2 separate regions of the Homo sapiens genome follow, and region 2 is linked to region 1. The links are contacts of gene promoters, found by promoter capture Hi-C in human tissues and cell types (Jung and others, 2019). All regions are on one chromosome and are shown on one strand. Each heading gives the region's core, a stretch centred on a gene start or on the middle of the fragment in contact. The rest is flanking DNA. Distances are from core to core; before and after follow the strand shown. Region 1 holds the start of ATP12A (ATPase H+/K+ transporting non-gastric alpha2 subunit). Region 2 overlaps WASF3 (WASP family member 3).

The links. Contacts are between HindIII fragments. The study calls those that stand out against the background at their distance.
Region 2: a contact is called between a fragment that was not itself captured here and the fragment with the promoter of ATP12A in region 1, in 1 of the 25 tissues and cell types used here (dorsolateral prefrontal cortex).

Annotation. Positions count from the first base shown.
Region 1 is chr13:24,678,910-24,682,025 of GRCh38, reverse strand. ATP12A (ATPase H+/K+ transporting non-gastric alpha2 subunit) reads right to left here and starts at 1,618. Exons shown (of 23, transcript NM_001676.7): 1 at 1,274-1,618; 2 at 306-464. The coding sequence starts at 1,282. RefSeq lists an enhancer at 1-67 and a silencer at 1,261-1,570. The HindIII fragment of the contact is 3,620 bases long and covers 1-2,457 here.
Region 2 is chr13:26,599,217-26,602,332 of GRCh38, reverse strand. All of the region lies in intron 1 of WASF3 (WASP family member 3), which reads right to left. Among named protein-coding and RNA genes, the nearest start is that of WASF3, 43 kb to the right of the region's middle. The HindIII fragment of the contact is 5,587 bases long and covers 1-3,116 here.

The DNA of each region.
Region 1 (3,116 bases), core at 369-2,868:
CACTACACACACCATATACACACACCACACACCATACACACACACCACACACCATACACCACACACCACACATACACACACACACCACACACTACACAGACACACCACACATACACACACACCACACATACACCACACACACACACCACACAGACACACCACGCAGACACCACACACCACACACAATCTCAAGGGGATTTCAAATCCCTCAGACTGAATGTCTGTGGTAAGAGGTGGGTTCTAGGGGCAAGCTCTTGCGGGGAAGGGCCATAGCCGGCAGGACCCCGTGGCTTAAGGCTACTGACCAGATGGAGTTCTTTCTGAAACTCCTCTTTGTGATTTTTCTTTTTGAGTTCCAGGCAGTTGTTCTTCAGACCCCTATACTTCTCCTTGCCATCCCCCTTGTCTGTTTTCACGATGTCCTTAGTTCCGCTGAGCTCCACGGAGTAAATTTCTGGGGTTTTCTGAAAGAGAAGCCCAGGTGCAATATTGGCCCCAAATGGGGTTTCCGAAGAGGTGCTGAGCGCCCCTCTGCGGGGTCAGGACCTGCAGGAGTCAGGAGCCCCTTCTCCCTTTCCTTCCCTCCTCTGGGGAGGCCGGAGGGAGTCGGACAGTGGAGTCTCTCCCCCACCTCCCGCCGACCTTGGCTTCCTCTCCGTCCGTGTAGAGGGGAGGCGGGGTGGGCACAGGCCAGCCAGCAGCTCCTCAGGGTGACCCTTCTCTGGGTGGAGCAGGTGGGAAGTTACCCCCCCAACTCCTGACTGATGCCTCCAAGGAGCTGTGAGGTTTCCTTAGAACCTCGAGGTTCCTTAGGCACCTCGAGGTTTCCTCTGAGGTGTCCTTCCCAGGGGACACAACAGCTGTGCGTCCTGTTTCTTGGGGAGGAGGCACCCACTAAGCTTACGACCCTCAGTCCTGATCAGGGGGCCCTAACCGGAAGTCTTTTCAGACCGCAACGAATCCATGTCACCCCATCCTCCGAGTCGGAGCCCGCAGGTGCCATGGAGCTGGCCTAGGACCCCTTGGCCCCTTCTCGCTCCTCTGGACTGGCTTCTTTCCCCAGCCAGCCCCGGCGGCCGCACGGAGCCGTGGCGGGGAGTCAGAGAAGCGGTGCCCAGGCCGGGGGGCGCTCAGAGGAAAGGCGGCCTCCCCTTGCCCCGGGACGGGGCGTTTCTCCTCTTCGCCTTTTCCTCGCTTCCCGTCAGCCTGCTCCGGTCCCCGGGGCCTTGGCCCAGCGTCTCGCATCCTCGGCCGGCGCGGGGGCTGCACGCACCTGGTGCATGCTGGGCTGGTGGCGCCGCGGGCTGCGGGCGTGGAGCGCGGATCCGGGACCGCAGCGGCGGAGCGCACGGTGGGGGGCCTCGTGTGGCTGTGGCAGTGGCAGTGGCTGAGGTGTTGGCGGTGGAGATACCGGCGGCGGCGCGGGCCCTGCACGCACCTCCGCGGCCGATCGCCAGCCGCTGCACCGGGGAGGTGGCACCAGCCTTAAATGCCGCCCGCCCCGCCCACGTCCCCGCCAGGGCGCAGGCCAGCGGACGCCTCGGAGGGTAGGAAACCCGCCGGCGCGCGCGCAGGGAGGGGGACCGACAGCTAGGGGTCGGGAGAGTCCAGGATTGAGGACCCCCTGGGAATCCCCTTCCCTTTAGTAGCCGAACGCCAGGGGGCGGGGTCTCTAGGGGGCGGGTCCGGCATCCAGGTGAGTACAGCCCTGGTTCCGCTGGGCGCCCAGAGCCGGACCAGCTGCTCCGGCGAGCTCCCGGCACGCCCACGTCCTGTCCAGGCTTCCCTGAAAACCCACACATGCCTTTTTTTAAAAATGTAATTTGCCTACCAATAAATCAATTTATAAAAATGTGTATGCAGAGAAGGGGAAATTGCAGTTTCTAACAGCAACTACTGTTGGAGATGTCCCGGCTAGAAAAGGCCAATGTGTTTTTGAGAATGGATTTAGATAGGTAAATTCAAGCTTCCGAGAGAATTTGGGAATAACTGAGAGACTCTGAAGAGTAGCTGAATTAATTTGCCGGATCCAGATAAGAATTTGGAATTCTGAAACAATTTGGAGAGGGAATGGGGAGGAGAGATGAGAGGATTAGGGTCGGTGAGACCACAGGAACCTGGGGCCCCAGGCTGCGGGTGCGCAGGAGCGGAGGCTGTTGGCTGGACTGGGCTGGAGAGGTCTGTCTCCACCTATTTATGTCACTCCCAGCTGAGACTCTATACATGAAGGAGAAAAGAATTTCTGACCCTGAAAGTTGATGTGCATACTAAAGCAGTGGTTGTTTTATACTGCTAAGTTTGGGTTGGTTTGTTATGCAGCAATAGATAACTGGGACATGCTCCATGCTCTTAGTGCCCAGCATGAGTTTTTGCACAGGATAGAAAAGGTATTTTCCCCCTGACACTTGAAACATAATTACTCCAGATGAGAAAGATAGCCTGAAAACAATATATCAGAGAGATATTTAGCAGTTAACAGTGGAGGAAATCAAACACGTTCTTTTAAAAGAATGAATCGTGAAGTCTTAAAGTCAGTGAAGAATATTAATTAATGGAGAGGAACATAAAAAATAAAACCCACGAATAGAGTTTAGTAATCAGCACCTATTTAGAAGAACAATAAGAAATTGACATGATTGAAATATATGAAAGGGAGTAGAGATAAGTTTCAAAAGAGGGGGCACTTTATTGGGCCCTTGATGCTCTGCTAATAAGTTTCCATTTAGATAAGGACTAATAGGAGGGTGCTAAGTTTTATTCTTTTTGAAAGTTATATATCAAATATGGTAAGAAAGATTGTCATTTTGACCATATTTAAAATGACTAAGAGTGAGGAGTCCAGAGAAGCAGCAAAAGTAACAATCCCATCATGCAGTGACTAGAACATCTGGCAGAAAACATGAAGAGCATTGGGTACATTTAGAAAAGGTAGAAGAAAAACAATAAGCTTGTGCCCGGCCGGGCGCGGTGGCTCACGCCTGTAATCCCAACGCTTTGGGAGGCCGAGGCGGGCGGATCACGAAGTCAGGAGATCGAGACCATCCTGGCTAACACGGTGAAACCCCATCTCTACTAAAAATACAAAACAATTAGCCGGGCATGGTGGTGGGCGCCTG
Region 2 (3,116 bases), core at 218-2,717, 1.9 Mb before region 1:
CAAAAACATTTCTAGCATCAAATTCTATCTCCAATTAATTAAGTAGCAGTAATCATTTAATCAGTGGCATCCAATATAATCCTGTAGGAAACATTTTCTGAAGCCCAGAGGCTGCATGGTAAAGGGGAAAGATCAGAGGTATGGGGGTCAGAGATCTGAGTTCCACCCCGGAACTACCATCGAAAAGCTCTGGACCTTGGAAGAGTTAGTACTGTTTGAGTCTCAAGCTCCCCTTTTATAAAAATAAAGCTAACCATACCTCCCCTTAAAATGTGAAGGGGAGGATGAAGTCTTATGGACAAAGAACACAGCAAGGTAGCAGAGGCATTTAATAACCGGCAGTTATTATCCCTGGACAACTAAAAGCAAAACATGCTCCCTGTCGGCAGACAAGCACAATCACCACAATCTGGCAAATTTACTCAGCCCACTCTTGGCAAAAAGGAAGTGATGATATCTTTGCATTTGTGTATGCAGATGACAGGCCACATCCTCATTCTTTGAGGTTAGGTGGCAGCACTGATCTGTCTCCAAATGACAAAACTCATGCTTGAGGCCAGTGGCCAATATATCACATATCCCTGAACCAGCACCTCTTTGTTTTCTACAAATAAAGATAATTATGGCCAATTTACTCACTGAAAGGGTACAGGAATGTAGATATTCCAAACAGTTGATATTCTGATATTTGAAATCCTCATGTTTATTTAACTAAAGCTTCATTTGCTCTTGTAGAGTTTTCTGTTAATAACTTGAATTCTGCATAAAATGCCAGCTGAATCTGTCAACCCTGAAGGCAGGAGGGTACCAAGATCCAGATTCTGCCCCTATCCTCTCCATCATCCCCCATCATCCATACTCCAGTGACAAGATGCTTCTTTCAAAGTCTAGAAGAGCCCAAAGGCAGGCCTCATCTCTGTAGAACCTTGAGCACAGGAATAATGATTAAATGACTATAGAACTCCACATACAAAGTAAACTGAAGAAATTAAAGTGGTAATAAACCTATACACAGAGACAGTCAACAGAATTAAAATTAAAGCACTCCAGTAAGTTACATCTACAGTATTATCTTCTCCCCTCAAAACTGCTGAGATAAATGGAATTCCATGGAAATTTCCTAAAATAAATGCTACGTAATTCACATACCAAATACACAGAGATTAAGTACCATTTTTATCAATCTGCTTAAAATTAATGACCTCAAATCTTAATACAAAAGTAATCAGCAATTTTTAAAATACATCTGAAAGCAAGTGAATGTTATTGCACCTAAAAGTGCTGAAAATACACTATATAAACCCACAAAACCATGAGATTTCAACACAGCATGGCTCTATCTACTATATAACCTATAAATGTAAGCATTTTCAACCTAAGAGAACCAAATTGCTAATCATCTCTACCCTGCCACAAAGAAATCACCCTGACTATATACCACATTCCCACAACTAAGGAAAGGAGGAAAGACAGAAGTGGAGAGGTGGAGAGAGGGTGTGTAGGGAAGAGACATTAACATTCTACAGTGCTGCGACAGTGTTTCTTCTTGGAGGTAATAAGTAATGCAGAGCGGATGCTCCTGTTCGTCTTTTGGTGATGAATCCAACACAAGATTAAAGTCATGAAAGAGGAGCTAAAACATCTGGCCTCCAGTACTAACCAACCAACAGCAGAACGGAGACACCCCAGCTCCCATGAGCATTGTGAAACATCTTACTAAATACACCTTCTTAATCAGGATTTGTATCTGAATTCTCTGCTGGGATGAAAAGCTAACCAGGATTGTCTCTGCCCTGCCCTGACATGAGAGCAACCAGAAAGGAAAAAATGAGAAGCAATGTACTTCACTGCTACTGAGCCTGCCATGCTGAGCCAGAACTCTGCTTTACATTCTTAGCCTCTCACTTGGTCCTCATAGCAATCCTATGAAGTAGGAACTATTAATATCCCCATTTTACAAACAAAGGAACTAAGAAACAGAGAAGTGAAGTGGCTTGCCCCAGGTCACACAGTACATAATAGAGTTGAGAGTCAAACCTAGAAAACCTTTTTTCAGAGACCATGCTTTTAACCACTAGCCTTCTCTTCTTTTATTTGAAATGAAATATAATCTTGCTGTAAAGACAGCTCAGGAAATGTAAAGCCATCCTGTATCCATCCCACTCACCTTACTGCCCACTCTACCATTAAAGGTAAATCTCAAAATCTTTCCTACAGTAATCCTAGTCAAACCACTCAAGCCCTGGGAAGTTTACTTTGTACTTCTGCATCATTTAATCTTCGGAGCCCAAAGAGGATGACAGATGTGGGTGTTTTAACCTCCAATTAACAAAGCAGTACTTTCAGAGAGTAACTGAATACTACTACAAAGCTCTAAGTGGCAAAGCCAAGGTGTGAACTCCCCAGTCCACTTAGAAATGATGCCTTTTGGAAATATTTTATCCACTTTGCCTCAATGAATCAAATCCCATGGGATGACTGTAACCTCCATTCTATAACATTACACAGAGACAATTTGCCCCAGGATTTAGAAAATGTGGATAGAACACAAAGAAACCTACAGGAAGTAAGTATCAGATATCAAGAAGGCCTTCATAGGCAAAGTAGTAATCCACAGCTGTTTTCATCTGTGGCAAAGTGGTGGAAAGACAAAGAATCTGCCAATAGATAAGGGTAAGAAGATACCAGCTGAACTGTTAACAAACTTTTAATGTCTCCATGTGAGCTGAAATGATAGATTAGAATCTCCAGGAGCCCCAAAACACAGCAAATCTGCATCCACTTGCCAACTCTTTCCTGTGGGCCTTAATCAAATACACATGGGTAGTGCACAAGGTGCTAGGGCAGGAGAGCTGAGAGAGCCCCTATGTCACGTCAGGCACCTGTGAAGTCCCTAGATGCAGAGCAGCAGCCTGACACCAGGAGGAAGGCAAGTAAGTGGACAGAAATCAGCTTTTACCATCTCTACAAAAAATACAGAAAATTAGCCGGGCTTGGTGGCAGGCACCTGTAATCCCAGCTTCACCAGAGGCTGAGGCAGGAGAACTGCTTGAACTCAGGAGGCAGAGGTTGCTGTGAGTCGAGATCAGCCACTGCACTCCAGCCTGGGTGACAGA